Linked DNA regions of Homo sapiens: region 2 is linked to region 1. The links are contacts of gene promoters, found by promoter capture Hi-C in human tissues and cell types (Jung and others, 2019). All regions are on one chromosome and are shown on one strand. Each heading gives the region's core, a stretch centred on a gene start or on the middle of the fragment in contact. The rest is flanking DNA. Distances are from core to core; before and after follow the strand shown. Region 1 holds the start of UQCC1 (ubiquinol-cytochrome c reductase complex assembly factor 1). Region 2 overlaps ACSS2 (acyl-CoA synthetase short chain family member 2).

Region 1 (4,913 bases), core at 1,001-3,500:
GCTACTCAGGAGGCTGAGGCAGGAGAATCACTTGAACCCGGGAGGCAGAGGTTGCAGTGAGCCAAGATCACGCCATTGCGCTCCAGCCTGGGCAACAAGAGTGAAACTCCGTCTCAAAAAAAAAAAGAAAAGATCTATTGTATAACATGGTGACTATACCCACTATGAATATGTATTGTATTCTTGAAAATTGCTTAAAGAACATATTTTAAACATTTCCAGCACAAAAATATGAGGTAATGCATATATTAATTAGCTTGACTTAGCCATTTCACAATGTATACATATTTTAAAACATCCTGGCCGGGGGCACGGTGGCTCACTCTTGTAATCCCAGCACTTTCGGAGGCCGATGTGGGTGGATCACCTGAGGTTAGGAGTTTGAGACCGTCCTAGCCGAAATGGCAAAACCCCGTCTCTACTGAAAACACAAAAATTAGCCAGGCGTGGTGGTGCGCATCTGTAATCCCAGCTACTTGGGAGTCTGAGGCAGGAGAATCGCTTGACTTGGGAGGTGGAGGTTGCAGTGAGCCGAGATTGAGCCACTGCACTCCAGCCTGGGCGACAAGAGTGAAACTCTGTCTCAAAAAAAAAAAAAAAAAGAAAAAAGAAAACATCCTGTTGTACACAATATATATTTTTTGTCAATTAATAAAAATCAATAAATTTAATTAAAAAAATAGTCGAGTGAAGTTATTTCCCATGACTAGCTCCTCTTCTTCCTTTAGATTTCATCTTACATGTCACTTTCTTGGAGAGGCCTTACCAACCTAACCAAAGTAGCTCCCCAGTTTTAATTTTTTTCACTGGGTTCCTATGCCTCCCCCACCAGTCTAAGAACTCCATGAAGCCAGTATGTCTTGTGTTCAGCACATAGGGAAGACTCAATAGGTCTTTGTTGACTGAATGAAATGAAAGAAGTCCTTCAACATCCTGCCCCTCTGCTCCCTCAACCCCCAAAGCACCAGTACTTTGTCTTCTCTTCTCTTGGGATGTAATGGAAGAGGAGTCTTCTACCAAGGCCGTTCTCTGCCACTTTCCTCAAGAAGCTCCTTGCCTCTTTGATTGATTCTCCTGTATACTCTTTTTTTTTTTTTTTTTTTGAGACGGAGTCTCGCTTTGTCACCCAGGCTGGAGTTCAGTGCCCCAGTCTCAGCTCACTGCAACCTCTGCCTCCCGGGTTCAAGCGATTCCCTGCCTCAGCCTCCCAAGTAGCTGGGATTACAGGCACACGCCACCATGCCCGGCTAATTTTTTTCGTATTTTCAGTAGAGACGGGGTTTCACCATATTGGTCAGGCTGGTCTTGAACTCCTGACCTCAGGCAATCCACCTGCCTCGGCCTCCCAAAGTGTTGGGATTACAGGCATGAGCCACCGGGCACGGCCCTGTATACTCTTCACTAATCTTTTCCTATCAATATGCAAAGATGTTTCCCTTAAACAACCAACCAACCACAAATCCCAAAAGTTTCTTCCTCTACCAGGCTTCAGATCGGCACATGACCGCCTTCTTGCCTTGACTTTCAGGAGTCTGGTATCCCCCGTATTCTTTTATCTTAGCCTCCTTCTCTGGCTTTTTTTTTTTTTTTTTTTTTTTTTTTTTTGAGACAGAGTCCAGTCCTGCTCTGTCGCCCAGGCTGGAGTGCAGTGGCGCGATCTCGGCTCACTGCAACCTCTGCCTTCAGAGTAGCTGGGATTACAGGCACACACCAACATGCCCGGCTACTTTCTTTGTATTTTTAGTTAGGGACGGGGTTTTGCCATGTTGGCCAGGCTAGTCTCGAACTCCTGATCTCAGGTGATCCGCCCGCCTCGGCCTCCCAAAGTGCTGGGATTACAGGCGTGAGCCACCGCGCCCGGTCTTCTGGCTCTTTCTAAAGATTGGGATTTCCTAAAGTCCTGTTCTTTTCAACCTCCATTGAAAAGTGTTGGGGTGGAGTTTGGGAAGGAGGGGCTGAGGAGTGAGGCTGGGTTAGGTGGGGAATAAAGAGAGGGATATGAGAAGCCCCGAGGTCTGGGGTCAAGGAGACAGGCGTGGGGGAAGGATTTGAACCACTGTTACGTGTAGTGGGGGAGACAGCAGGGAGAGCGTGCCCGGGCACGACAGCCTGGTGCACAGCCGAGAAAACAACAGCGCGTGCGCGTAGCGACCTCTTTGCGCCTGCGCCCCCCTTGCCAGTCTTTCGCCGGCAAAAGGAGGACGTAGAAAAGGGGACACCGGAAACTCACTCTTCACCCGGAAATGGTTATTGAGGAACATGGCGTTGCTGGTGCGAGTCCTTGTGAGTGAAGGAGTAATTTTCTACGGTAGCTCTCTGGGTCCCGGGTTGGAGTTCGACAAGGCAGGGCGGGAGGAATTGGAAGGAATCGCAGGAGGGAAGCCTGTGTTATAGCTAGGCTGAGTGGCCGCTTTTCCGTGGGGAAACTGAGGCAGCTTCCGACCTCTTCCTACCCCGTTTTGACCTTAGCTCCCCCATCTTTCGAGAAGGGGAAGACTGACATCTGGCCTTTATTTGATGGGGTTTACTTTTCCTTCCCTCCCCCATGTACCTGCTTCCCCTCAGGGAGAGGAGCATGTAGGACACTGATTGGAGTTTCAGGAGGCCTGGGTTCTAGTCCCTGACTGTCACTGATGCATAGTGACTTTAAGCAAGTCACTTTTGGGCCTCATTGACCCTATGTGAAAAACGAGGACATTTATCTCCTGCAGTCCCTTTAGATTCTGAGATTCTCAGGGTTTCTTTCATAGGTAATAAGTCAGTTCTTAACTGTACAGTTAAGTGGAATATAGATTATTAGATTGAAAGCTGCGTGAGAATTGGAGTCATGTCTGTCTCCGTCGTTTTCACTTTGCCTAGCATGGTGTCTGGCACATCATAGGTGTTAAATGATTACTTGTTGAATAAATGAATGAAGTAAGGAAAGACTACCAGACTCTTTAGCACCCGTGTGTGAAACTACTGCACCTCTTGAGATTTAGTCCTGACCCTTCTAGCATACTCTTTTCTCTAGCAATTAAAGGAGAAAAGAAAGTGGCAGCAGAAAAAACGTTAGGATACAGAGCTTAGTTTTTAATCATGGAGGGATGGGAGAGTGTATAGTTTTAGCGAGTCTTCAAAAACTGGGTCAAAGACACTGTTTTTCATAGTAGACATGGTCTATTCCTGTGTCTAGGTAACTTCTGAATTGTTATTTTACATTTGTGTTTTTGATCTTTTTATATATGTCTTACAAGGACGACAGTTTTACTTCTTGTATTCCTTGCCAGCCTAGCAGAGTGAGGTACCCTCGACTGCTGTTCAGTAAATATTTATTTGTAGAGTAGCCCCTGTAACTGCCAGAAAGATTCACCTGGTGAAGTGATTGTTTGATTTCAGGCCAGAAATTGATTCAGAAATGAGGACTGCTGGGGAAATGGCAATTAGAATGTTCTGAATTTAGTGGTTTTTTTTTTTTTTTTTTTTTTAATCCTTCCCCTGCCACCCTTTAGGGTTTTGTTTTTTTTTTTTTTTTTTTTGAGGCAGAGTCTTGCTCTGTCGCCGAAGCTGGAGTGCAGTGGTGCCATCTCGGGCTCACTGCAACTTCTGCTCCCGGGTTCAAGCAATTCTCCTGTGCCAGCCTCCCGAGTAGCTGGGATGACAGGCATGCACCACACCACACCTGACTAATTTTTGTATTTTTTTTTTTTTTGAGATGGAGTCTCGCTCTGTCACCCAGGGTGGAGTTCAGCGGTGTGATCTCGGCTCACTGCAACCTCTGCCTCCTGGGTTCAAGCAGTTCTCCTGCTTCAGCCTCCCAAGTAGCTGGGATTACAGGCGCCTGCCACCACACCTGGCTAACTTTTGTATTTTTAGTAGAGATGGAGTTTCACCATGTTGGCCAGACTGGTCTCGAACTCCTGACCTCATGATCCGCCTCCTGCGGCCTCCCAAAGTGCTGGGATAACAGGCATGAGCCACCGAGCCTGGCCTGACAACTATCATTTTATAGGGCACTTACTACGTGCTAAGCACTTTAAAATACTTACCTAATCCTTATAACATCCCTTTGGAAAGGAGGGCGTGTTATTTCCTCTATTTTACAGATAAGAAAACTGAACCACAGAGAGGTATTCCTGGCCAGGTGCCGTGGCTCACACCTGTAATCCCAGCACATTGGGAGGCTGAGGTAGGTGGATCACTTGAGGCCAGGAGTTCAAGACCAGCCTGGCCAACGTGGTGAAACCCTGTCTCTACTAAAAATACAAAAATTAGCCAGGCCTGGTGGTGGGCGCCTGTAATCCCAGCTACTCGTGAGGCTGAGACACGAGAATTGCTTCAACCCAGGAGGCGGAGGTTGCAGTGAGCTGAGATTGTGCCACTGCAGTCCAGCCTGGGTGAAAGAGTGAAACTCTGTCTGAAAAAAAAAAAGAAGTATTCCTGAAACATTCTTGTTAGTCTTGCTTTATTTTTTCCTCTTTTTGTCTTGTCAGCCAATATTTTCCCTTCTCCAGTGATGGTTTTGGGAAGGAGGAGGAAACTAAAACACTGCTATTGTTGAATGACTACAGCAGAGAGCCTGGACATTTGATCAGTGGAACTGGACATGCTTATGGTTTTTATGAGTTGTCCTGGGCATTGCTGATCATTTCTGCTTTTCTTTGGAAATAGTAAAAATTGCAGAAAGCCACCCTGTACTTTAGAAAATTAAAAAAAAGTTGTGGTAAAATACATGTAACAAAATTTACCTTTTAAACTTTTTTTTTTTTTTCTGAGACGGAGTTTTGCTCTTGTTGCGCAAGCTGGAGTGCAATGGCGTGATCTTGGCTCACTGCAACCTCTGCCTCCCGGGTTCAAGCGATTCTCCTGCCTCAGCCTCCTGAGTAGCTGGGATTACAGGCACGTGCCACTACGTTCAGCTAATTTTTTGTATT
Region 2 (4,913 bases), core at 1,245-3,744, 490 kb after region 1:
GTCCCAGACAGCTGGTCAAGGGAGGGTAGTGTGGGTCAACACTGGCCCTCAGCACTCCTGAGGGGGCAAAGAGGATGGGCAAAGTTTGGAGCAGGAGGAATCCTAGGTAAAGGTCAGGATCATGTTCACTGGATGGTCAGGCAGCGGTGGCTGAAGAGGTGACTGATGACAGATGGGTCAGCCACAGTAGACATGTCCCCGAGGTCATGGTCATTCTGAGCAATCTTCCGAAGCACTCGCCTCATGATTTTCCCTGGGGAACCACAGACCTCTAGTTACTTGGTGAAAGCACTGACCCACCCTAGCCCTGCCAAAGGCTTTCATCCACGCACACCCCACCACCACCAGGCCTCAGCCCATCCCAATCCATGGAGGCCTCTGAACATACCTGAGCGGGTTTTAGGCAAGCCAGGTGCATTCTGGATGTAGTCTGGTGTGGCAATGGGGCCAATCTTTTCTCTAACTGTAACCAACAAATCATCAAGCATTTCTTCAGCACCCTTAGCCAGACTTTTCAAAAATCAAAGTAGAGATGGCTTTGTTCCCCACCTGTTTCCTCCTCAAGTCCCTGCCCACAGAGACAGCCTCAGGTTCACTGCTTCTCTTGCTCTCAACACACTTGTCTCTTTACTCTCTCATTTTATCTTATGGAACTCAGGCTGTAGAATGAGCCTGCTAGAGTTTAAATGCCACCTTTCTAGCAGTGTGGCCTTGGGCAAGTGATTTAACTTCCATGAGTCTCAGTTTCATCATCTTTAGCATGAAGGTAACAATAAGATCTGTTTCATGGAGGTGACTCTAGGGATTAAGTGGGGTAATTCATTTAAAGCACTTAGCCTAGCGGTGGCACAAAGTATTCTAGAAATGTTGGCTATTATTATTATCCTAGTGGGAGACTAGTGGAGACTGAACAGGAAGAGGGCAATCAGCCCATGGGGCCCCCTGGAATCTGTTTGTGGTTTGGGGAGCAGCTTGCTCTAGCCCCTCCCCAACAACTTGCAGTGATAACTGGGCCTCCAAGACAGACCCTATAGTCCCTGCCCAGGGAGGCTCCTTACTCTGCTTCTTGAGCTCCTCGGTGAGCTTGGGGCTGAAGGTGTGGCCATCACACAAGGTGACAAAGCAGTAGAGGCATTCACCCTTCACAGGATGAGGGTGGCCCACCACAGCTGCCTCTGCAACAGCCTCATGTTCCACAAGTGCTGACTCCACCTCTGCTGTACTCAGCAGGTGTCCTTGTCAAGGGAAAGGAAGTGCCATGAGAGAGATCCCAGGCTCTGCCCCAGCCCATGCTCCATCTGTACCCATGGGGCAGTCCTGGTCTGGCCAAATGGAGAAGACCCTTCATTCACTCCTCAGATGACATGCTTTCAGTCACCCCACCATCCAAGTTCCCCTACTCTAGGCACATTCCAGTGTTCATTACTCCTCTAAAACCTGGGCCCAGAACTGAATGCTACACTTAGTACATGGTCTGGCCAAAGGACACTCCTGGGCTCTTGCGGAAGGCTTCGGCTGGGTGTTGTCAGAGGAGCAGAGTTAATAAGATGGGAAGGTGGCCCCTGGCCCTCACCAGATACATTGAGCATGTCATCAATCCTGCCAGTGATCCAGTAATAGCCATCCTGGTCCCGCTGGCAGCCTGGGAAGAAATGCAAAACCTAATAAATAAAAACCCTACGGTAGGATACCTGATCCACATTACCAAACTGCTACACCTTCTGCAATAGCCTTCTAACAAGTCTTCCTGCTTCCACTCTTGCCCACTGTAGTAGCCAGCCTCCAAGAGGGCACCACTGATCTCTGCCTCTTGGTATTCATAGCCCTGCAGTCCTCTTTCTCATTGTACTAGGGTTAGTCTGTGTCATCATAGGATTTGGCAGAAGTGATAGGATGTCACTTCTGAGATTAGGTTGTAGAAGACACCTAGCTTGTCTCGGTTGCATTGTCTCAGATCATTTGCTGTAGGGTAAGCTAGCTGCCATGTATTGAGTAGTCCTATGGTGAGGTGAGGAACTGAGGATTCCTGCTAACAACCATGCGAGTAAGCATGAACGTAGGTCCTCCAGGCTCACTCAAACCTTCAGATGACTACAGGCCCTACCAACAGCTTGACTGAAACTCACAAGAGACCCAGAATGAGAACTACCCAGTGAAACTGTTCACAGACTCCTGATCCTCAGAAACTGTGTGAGATAATATTTGTTATTTTAAGCTGCCAACTTTTGGGATAATTTGTTCCATGCCAATAGTATACTCACCTAAACTCTATTCTCCATAAATCCAGCAAAGTTATTTTCTAAACAGTAAATCAATTCTTAGCACTCCCCTGCTTAAAACCCCAAAAGGTGGCCAGGCATGGTGGCTCATGCCTGTAATCCCAGCACTTTGGGAGGCCAAGGTGGGTGGATCAGGAGTTCGAGACCAACATGGCCAACATGGTGAAACCCCGTCTCTACTAAAAATACAAAAATTAGCCAGGCATGGTGGCACCCGCCTGTAATCCCAGCTACTTGAGAAGCTGAGGCAGGAGAATTGCTTGAACCCGGGAGGTGGAGGTTGCAGTGAGCTGAGGTCGTGCCACCGCACTCCAGCCTGGGTGACAGAGTGAGATTCTGTCTCAAAAAAAAAACAAACAACAACAACAACAACAACAAAAAAAAGGTTTCCCACTGTACTTTGAATAAAATTCAAACTCCTCACCATGGCCCACAAGACCCTCCCTGTATTATGTACGTCTCCAACGTCATGTAATATTCTTCCCTTTGCTTGCTACGCTCCAGCCACACAGGCTTCAGTCCATTCTTCAGACATCTCAAGCTGTGTCCCTCTGCACAAAACACTCTTACTCTAGATTTTCCCATGCCTGTTTCCTTCTCACCCTTCAGGCCTCTGCTCAAATGTCAATTCAGAGAAGTCTTCTCCGACGATCCTGTGTACAGTAGCCATCCCTGCACACACTATCATGCTACCCTGTTTATTTTTCTTAACAGCATTTATCTCTATCTAAGATAAGCTTATTTATGTTTGTTGGGTTTGTCTGTCTCCCCTTACTAGAATCCCCATGAGGGAGGAGATTTTGACTACATTATTCATGATCAGTGCCTGGGCACAGGATCACAGTGCTCAGATCTTATGGATGAATGGATTGGTAGATGGATAGATGGAGAAACACAGACTCCAGACATAAAGACAAACATGACATAATAGTCATGCACTGCCACATGCCCCATCTCTTTCAACACAGGAGCATACATTGTCCATCTTTCCTCATACATCAAAGTTCGGATGGCACCATTCTGAGACCCCTCCTGCTATACTCATTCCTGCCCTTACAGTCTTTGTAGCTCTGCGTAGAAACCAGATACTGACATGTAGGACACATTCTTCTCTAATTTTCTTTACCCCTAACCAACTGATATAGTTTGGATGTTTGTCCCTTCCAAATCTCATGTTGAAATATGATCCCCAGTGTTAGAGGTGGGGCCTGGTGGGAGGTGTTTTGGTCAAGGCCGGGGAGGTGGGGGGGGCGGGGGGGACAGATCCCTCATGAATGGCTTGGTGCTGTACTTGCAGTAACTCTATGAGTTCATGTAAGATCTGGTTGTTTAAAAGAGGCTGGTATCTCCTCCCTCTCTCCCTTGCTTCCTCTCTTGCCATGTCAAACACTGGCTTTCCCTTTGCTTTCTGCCGTGATTGGAAGCTACCTGAGGCCTCACCATAGGCAGATGCCAGCACCATGCTTCCTGCACAGCCTGAAGAATGATGATCCAAAATAAACCTCTTTTCTTTATAAATCACCCAGTCTCAGGTATTATTTTATAGCAACACACCAACTCTTCCTGAAAATGGAAGTGGAAGGTACATGTCTTAGTGGGAGGTGCAAGAGGGGGATAGCTAAGGCTCACCATCTCCTGTAACATAGTATCCAGGAAACTTCTTAAAGTAGGTTGTCTCAAAGCGTTCGTGGTTCCCATAGACTGTGCGCATGATCCCTGGCCAGGGCTGCTTGAACACCTGGGGAGTGAGGAAGGGACAGTGATCACATTTGCTATGCTGTCTCACTGGAAGATAATTACAGCTTTTCTAAATGTGGGGGAAAGTGTCCTGAATGAAGTACAGGCTTTGGAGACAGAGGATCCTGGCTTGGAATCCCAGCTCTACCACTTACTAGCTAGGTGACCTCAGAGAAGTAACTTTACCCCTCTGAGCTTCAGGATCCTCATCTGTAAATCAGAGAAAATACTTTCTGTCTTCCAAAGTTATTGTGAGGATTAAATTAATAGTATATGGAAATTGCCTAGCACGGTGTTCTATTATTGATAAGTGTTTAGTAAATTTGTGTCTCCTTTTGGGCAATCCTTGAGGAAAGCAGGTCCAGTTTGATACAAATGAAAACACTCATTTAAAAAACAGTGGTGCCCACACACCAAGTAAATAATTATTGCCCAATCAGTAACATTCTTTGGCAGCAGATCGATGGAATGGATGGAATTCTAGGCTGAGTCAGAAGGCCTGGATGTAAGCCCTGTCCCTGTTACTAACTTGCTCTTGGGAAAGTGAAATGGGGTGGGGTTGAAGGGACAGGTGAGGCTCCTGCAAGTATGAATACAATAATCACAACAGCTAATGTTTATCAAGTACTAATTGTTAGTTTCTCTGCTAACCCCTTCATGTGGATTATCTAACTCAATCAAGCAAGCAACCATAGGAGACAAAGGCATTATTTTTTTCTGAGACGGAATTTTGCTCTTGTTGCCCAGGATGAAGTGCAATGGCACAATTTCGGCTCAATACAACCTCCACCTCCCCGGTTCAAGTGATTCTCCTGTCTCAGCCTCCCGTGTAGCTGGGATTACAGACGTCCACCACCACGCCCAGTTACTTTTTGTATTTTTGGTAAAGACGGGGTT

The links. Contacts are between HindIII fragments. The study calls those that stand out against the background at their distance.
Region 2: a fragment that was not itself captured here is called in contact with the fragment with the promoter of UQCC1 in region 1 in 1 of the 25 tissues and cell types used here (liver).

What each region holds. Positions count from the first base shown.
Region 1 is chr20:35,409,310-35,414,222 of GRCh38, reverse strand. UQCC1 (ubiquinol-cytochrome c reductase complex assembly factor 1) reads left to right here and starts at 2,250. Exons shown (of 10, transcript NM_018244.5): 1 at 2,250-2,283. The coding sequence starts at 2,260. RefSeq lists enhancers at 2,015-2,064, 1,272-2,094, 2,195-2,344, 2,405-2,504, 2,095-2,918. The HindIII fragment of the contact is 20,339 bases long and covers 1-4,913 here.
Region 2 is chr20:34,922,427-34,927,339 of GRCh38, reverse strand. ACSS2 (acyl-CoA synthetase short chain family member 2) reads right to left here. Exons shown (of 18, transcript NM_018677.4): 14 at 3,909-4,017; 15 at 1,574-1,642; 16 at 1,059-1,235; 17 at 389-463; 18 at 1-253. The coding sequence ends at 126. Among named protein-coding and RNA genes, the nearest start is that of GSS, 31 kb to the left of the region's middle. The HindIII fragment of the contact is 6,103 bases long and covers 1-4,913 here.